2 separate regions of the Homo sapiens genome follow, and region 1 is linked to region 2. The links are contacts of gene promoters, found by promoter capture Hi-C in blood cells and fetal thymus (Javierre and others, 2016). All regions are on one chromosome and are shown on one strand. Each heading gives the region's core, a stretch centred on a gene start or on the middle of the fragment in contact. The rest is flanking DNA. Distances are from core to core; before and after follow the strand shown.

Region 1 (2,700 bases), core at 95-2,594, 540 kb before region 2:
TGCAGGACATGTGACAGGGCAGTGGAGGCGAGACCGCAACGTACAGCAAGAAGAAAAGGAACCTCCACGAAGCTGCCTGCTAGGGCTGGGACGCCGCAGGACATGGCAACTCTCTGTGGCTGCACGTTGACTTCTCGTAAGAACCCTACAAAGACAGGCTCTTGAGCCTCATCTTAGAGAGGAAGGAGCTGTGACTTGACCAAGGCCACAGAGCTGAAGAACCATAGTCGCACTTGAAGTCAGTTCTCTGACCCCAAAGTCCAGGCTCCTCCCACGACACCCCCGAGCTCTGAGCACGCTCAGTTACCCAAACACAGTTTTCCCCTGGGCTTCTAGGAAATCCAAGATATGTCAGACGATTTTCTACACAAAAATGTCCTTTTCCATGTTCTGCAGCTGCAGTCCCAGACCGAGGAATCCAGAATCTCTGGATGGGGATTCTGTACCGCCCAGGGGCTCTGAAGAAATGGGGAAGCAAGTGAATTTCCCTGAGCTCAGTTGCCTCAGCTATAAATTGGGGAAACTACCTACTTCCTATTGTGAGGTTTAAGGTGATATGGTGTGTGTCAAGCTGCCCGTACTTTGGAGCACACAGCAGGTGCTCAGGGGAGATCAACGTCCTTTGTGGCTCTTTTGAGATGCCCTTTGTGAGCTGGGCATCATGTCTTGGATGGGGCCTTCTGTACCTGTCATTCCACAAATATGGGTGACTGAGGTGACTCTGTCCAGGTGGGGTGGGGTCCAAGAAAGGCCACTGGGGGAGGGGGAGGCATAAAAACCAAGGACCAGGAAGAAGCAAGTGCTCCCTAACTGGGAAGCAGGTGGAGGGCCTGGTGGGGCAGCCAGCCGGCGGTTCACAGCGAGGAGCTGTGTCACTGGGGCTGGCGGGCACGTCATGGACAGGGTGAGCAAGGGAGTTGCTGGTTCCCCTCTTCCTCATTTGGGGGCATCTTTCTTGAGAGCCAGAGATCTGAGATGTGGTGGGTGCCAGACCCTCAAAATACACACAAAAATATAGCTCCTCAGCATGTCCGGTACACCCCGCCCAGCCCTGAACAGTGCCTCGAGTGTCCAGGGCAGGACTGCATCGAGGGAAACATGCCCAGGAGGCTTCATTCACTCAGGGCCCCTTGTCCCCCTCAGGCAGCCACTGAGTTGCTCCCATTTCCTTGGCTTTCAGTGCCTGCAGAAGCAAGCAGAGTATGGAGTTGGGGAGAAGCCCCCCAAGGTGTGACCCTGCCCACCCCGCCCACCGCGGCTCCTCATTCCCCAAACTTCCTGCATTCCCATAACACGGGGCCAGCCACGGTTCTCCAGGTAGGTCTGTAAGTCTCCTGCCTTTGTGTGTGCTGGGCCCTCTGTGGGGAGGCCACTCAGGCTGGGGAGTCCCCCTTGCCCTTCACCCTTGGAGGATTAACCCAGGGCAAGCTGCCCTGGGATGCTTCCTCCTTGCCCGGGGCTGGGTCAGTGTCCCTCCTCTGGGCTCTGCAGCCCTACGCTCACCTCTGCTGTAGCATTTATTGCCATGCATTACATTGCCTGGCTGCCGGTCAGATCCTTACTAGATGGTGACCTCCTCAGGGGCAGGCCGTGTCTGACTCGCCTCTGCACCTCCAGCTTCTAGCCCCATGCCTGGGTCAGAGCAAGCGCTCTGATGCTTGTTGCATGAATTATTCTACTGCAAATCAGGCAACAGGAACATTTCTGAAGAAGAGGCACACAGGGTGGAGAGCCAGACAGGCTGACTGAGGATGTAAGGAGGAGGGGTGCAGGGAGGGATGGAAAAGAGAGAATGTATGTGTGTGCTGGGAGGGGCAGGGGAGGGCGGAGGGAGACAGGGAACACCGTTTAATTAGACCACATGTGCAGAGCAGCATCTGGCTCCAAGCGCAGCCGTTTACACCGCTCCTGGAGTTGTCGTGGAGACAACCACATGACCAGCCTGGAGCCGAGACTCAGGGGCAGCAATCCAGATGCACCCCTAACATATTCTGACAGAGAGCAGATGGGCAGCTATTTGCAGGGCCAAAAAATGCCAACTCCGCTCCTCTCCAGACCTGTGTGCCCTCACTGATCATTTTCATCTTGTAAAGTCATTCTTATCTGCCCTGGAACCACCCGTTCCTCTTGTGTAGGAAGCAGTATGAGGGCTGCTATTTTTGTAGTTCTCTGACCACCACAACTTTCGGCCTGTTCCTCTGGTGAGATGTCACCACCTATAATGAGGGGGTCCTCCAGGGCCAGGCTCCCCTGCTGGCTTCCCATCCCAGTCTCTTTCTCCACTAAAAGTCCCTAAATCTCCGTTTAGGCCCCATCTAAGAGATCCAGGCCTTGGAGCAACACTGCGCCCAGTATGGGGAGGACGCAGGCTTCGGTGGCTGAGCTTCTGCTCTGCTGGTATTGGCCATGGGTTTGCACTCAGCCTCTCCAAGCTCAGGGTTCCGCTCTGTAAAATGGGGTAACGTTTACTTTCTTTCTTTTTTTTTTTTTTTTTTTTTTTTTTGAGATGGAGTCTCGCTCTGTCTCCCAGGCTGGAGTGCAATGGTGTAATCTTGGCTGACCGCAACCTCTGCCTCCTGGGTTCAAGTAATTCTCCTGCCTCAGCCTCCTGAGTAGCTGGGATTACAGGCATGCACCACCATGCCGAGCTAATTTTTGTATTTTTAGTAGAGATGGGGTTTCACAATGTTAGTCAGGCTG
Region 2 (2,700 bases), core at 185-2,684:
ACGGAGCCAAACCTGCCTCCGAAGCAGACCCAGATGGGACTCTGTAACCGAAGTGCTTATTCAGTTTTTGTCTACAATCATTTTATTTCCTAAATCCCTCCCCCACCAGACACCTGGGTATTTCCCTCCAGTCCCCAGGAGACTCTAGGGTGAGCCTGAAACCTGGAGGCTGGGGGTAGCAGTTGGGATTTACCCAGCACGCTACTTTGTTGGCCCCTGGGGAGGTGGTGCAGCCAGGCGGGTAAGGAGGACTCGCGCCATCAGCGGGGTCTGAGACATGGTGTGCCCAGTGGGCAGAGAATAGGCCTGTGGTTTTTAAGAACCTCACTGATATCGAATGTGTCTTGGAGTGAGAAAGTTTTTAATGGAAAAGGAGCAAGAGAGAGTAATGAAATAATTTGCTAAGTGCCTACTATGTTCCAGGCATTTTACATCCACAGTCTCTTTCAATCAACACGTCCATGCGGAGGAGAGCTTCTTGTCGCCCATTATAAAGGTCAGAAACAGGCTAAGGGAGGATAAGTCACTGCCTAAGGTTACAGTGCATGTAAATGGCAGAGCTAGGATTCGAACCCTGGCCTTTCTGAGTTCCTAAAGCCATGCTCGCCCCCACTCTTCCAGGCTGGGGAGAGACCGGGAAGAGCGAGAAGCTACACGCTGGGCTGCAGATTGGGCCCTAGCGGGCTTGGAGCGTGGATATGCTGGCTGGCCCCCCTCCCCGGGAGTCACAGCTCTCGCCGGTCTCGCCACTCAGGCTCTGCCGGGTACCCAGGAGGCTTGCACGGCCGCCTGCAGCCCGCTGTGCAGAGCCCGGGCCGAAGGCGGAGCTCGATGGGAAACGGCCGGCCGAAGGCTCTTGCAACTCTGCCACAGGCCTGCCTTCCCGGGCCTCCCAGGCGGGTGCCTGAGGCCGCGGCTCCAGGCCGAGGGGAGACCGCAGTGAGACGAGCATCCCCTTGCTGCGCCTTCTTAGGATAGAGGGTTTAATTTTCCTTTCTGAAGATATCGCAGGAAGCTGTTCGTATCTTAAAAACTCCAAACCCCGCGCTCTCCCTCCTCCCTGCCTCCCCCCCACCCCCGCCCTCCAGCCTCGCCCACCAGCTCCCACCATCTCGACTCTCCTCTGCTCCTCTTGCCTCTCCCCTCCCTCTTGGGTCTCCCGCCTTCCCGGAGCACGCGCTGCCAGGGCCTGGGGCGCCGAGCGGCCAATGGCACGGCGGCAGGACGTGATGTCAGGCGCGGCTGTAGAAAAGGCGCGGAGGCTTGCGCTGGCGCGGACTGCAGAGCCGGGGCTGGGCTAGGCGCGCGCTTGGAGAGCATTGCGCGCGGCTGGGCCCGCGGCCGGCGGCTCCTCCTCCCACTCTGCTCCTCCTCTTTTTTCTCCTCCTCCACCTCCTCCTCCGCCTCCTCCTCCTCCTCTTCCTCCTCCTCTTCAATTCTCCCGGTGGCTCGACTCGGCTCGCAGGCTTCGGAGAAACCCCTACTCCAGTCGCCGACTCAGCGCCCAAGAGGGTCGCCTTGGGCTGGGGGCGCACCCCAGGGAGGGGAGGGGTCCAGGCAGCTGGGCCGCCGCGGACACCTAGCGGCTTCAGGGTGAACCCCGACCGCAGCCGTCGCCGCCTCGGGCAGAGTTTGCGCCCTTGCTTTGCGCCCCGGGCGCTGAAGCCGGGCGGGCGATGCCCGCGGCGTGAAAGCGCCCGCGGCGGGCGCCGACCTCTGTCCTAGTCTCCTGCTCCCCCCGCCCCGCTTGTCCCGTGCCCTTGTGACCCTGGCTTTGGCGCCGTCGCCCAGGCGCCCCGCAATGTAGCTGCCCCTGCGCCTCGGCGGGAGGCGTCCTGCCCCGCGAGCGCCCGGGGCCCGGAGCCCGGCCTGGGGGCTCAGCCGAGCTCGGGCGGGGCCGGGGCCGCGGTGGCGATGCACCGGGCCCGTTAGCGCCAGGAGCGCCAGGCAGCTGAGGCGGGGGGCAAGCCCTCCCTCGGAGGAGCCGCGCCCCCGGCCCCGCCGGTCCCGCCGCGATGCTGTTCCACAGTCTGTCGGGCCCCGAGGTGCACGGGGTCATCGACGAGATGGACCGCAGGGCCAAGAGCGAGGCTCCCGCCATCAGCTCCGCCATCGACCGCGGCGACACCGAGACGGTAGGCGCGCGGCTGTGGGGTCGGGGCTGAGAGCTGGGATGGGGCCGGGCCAGTCAGCGCCTCTGCTCCCCGAAGTTTGGGGAGCGTCCTTCGTGCCGCACGGGACTGGGTGCTGGGGATCCTCGGTCAGAATGCAAGGCCGGTGGCTCCCGGTTCGGGGGAAACCCGGCTGCTGGGACGCAGAAGGGAAACAAGGTTGAAACCGAAATCTCGGCCCTGGGGGTAGAGGAGAGCGTTTCTTCCGAACTGGAAGCGAAGTCCCATCCGCGGCCCGGGGCGGCTCCCTTCTCACCTTGCCCGGTGCCGGGGTCGACAGCCCCGCGCTCTCCTCCACCTCTCGGCTCCGGTTGCTGGCGGCGCCGCGAGCGGCGCCAGGGAAGGGCGAACCAGCTGGGAGCATTGGGGCTCCAGCCGGCTTGGGCCGCTCCCAGCTTTCCGGCAATCGGGGATCCTCCTCAACCCCCAGCGCAGTTTCAGAGGCCGAAGTCTTCGGGGCCAACATTTGTCGTTGATCGCGTCCCCAGACCCTTGACTGGTCAGACTTAGCCAGGCCAGGGCTGGGAGT

The links. Contacts are between HindIII fragments. The CHiCAGO score rates a contact against its expected background, and 5 or more counts as called.
Region 1: a fragment that was not itself captured here is called in contact with the fragment with the promoter of LHX2 in region 2 in 2 of 17 cell types (erythroblasts and megakaryocytes); the score reaches 6.8 in erythroblasts.

Annotation. Positions count from the first base shown.
Region 1 is chr9:123,471,510-123,474,209 of GRCh38, forward strand. All of the region lies in intron 13 of DENND1A (DENN domain containing 1A), which reads right to left. Among named protein-coding and RNA genes, the nearest start is that of MIR7150, 13 kb to the right of the region's middle. The HindIII fragment of the contact is 3,591 bases long and covers 1-2,700 here.
Region 2 is chr9:124,010,334-124,013,033 of GRCh38, forward strand. It overlaps LHX2 (LIM homeobox 2), which reads left to right and starts at 1,435. Exons shown (of 5, transcript NM_004789.4): 1 at 1,435-2,135. The coding sequence starts at 2,016. RefSeq lists a silencer at 1,359-1,408 and an enhancer at 2,347-2,700. The HindIII fragment of the contact is 7,434 bases long and covers 1-2,700 here.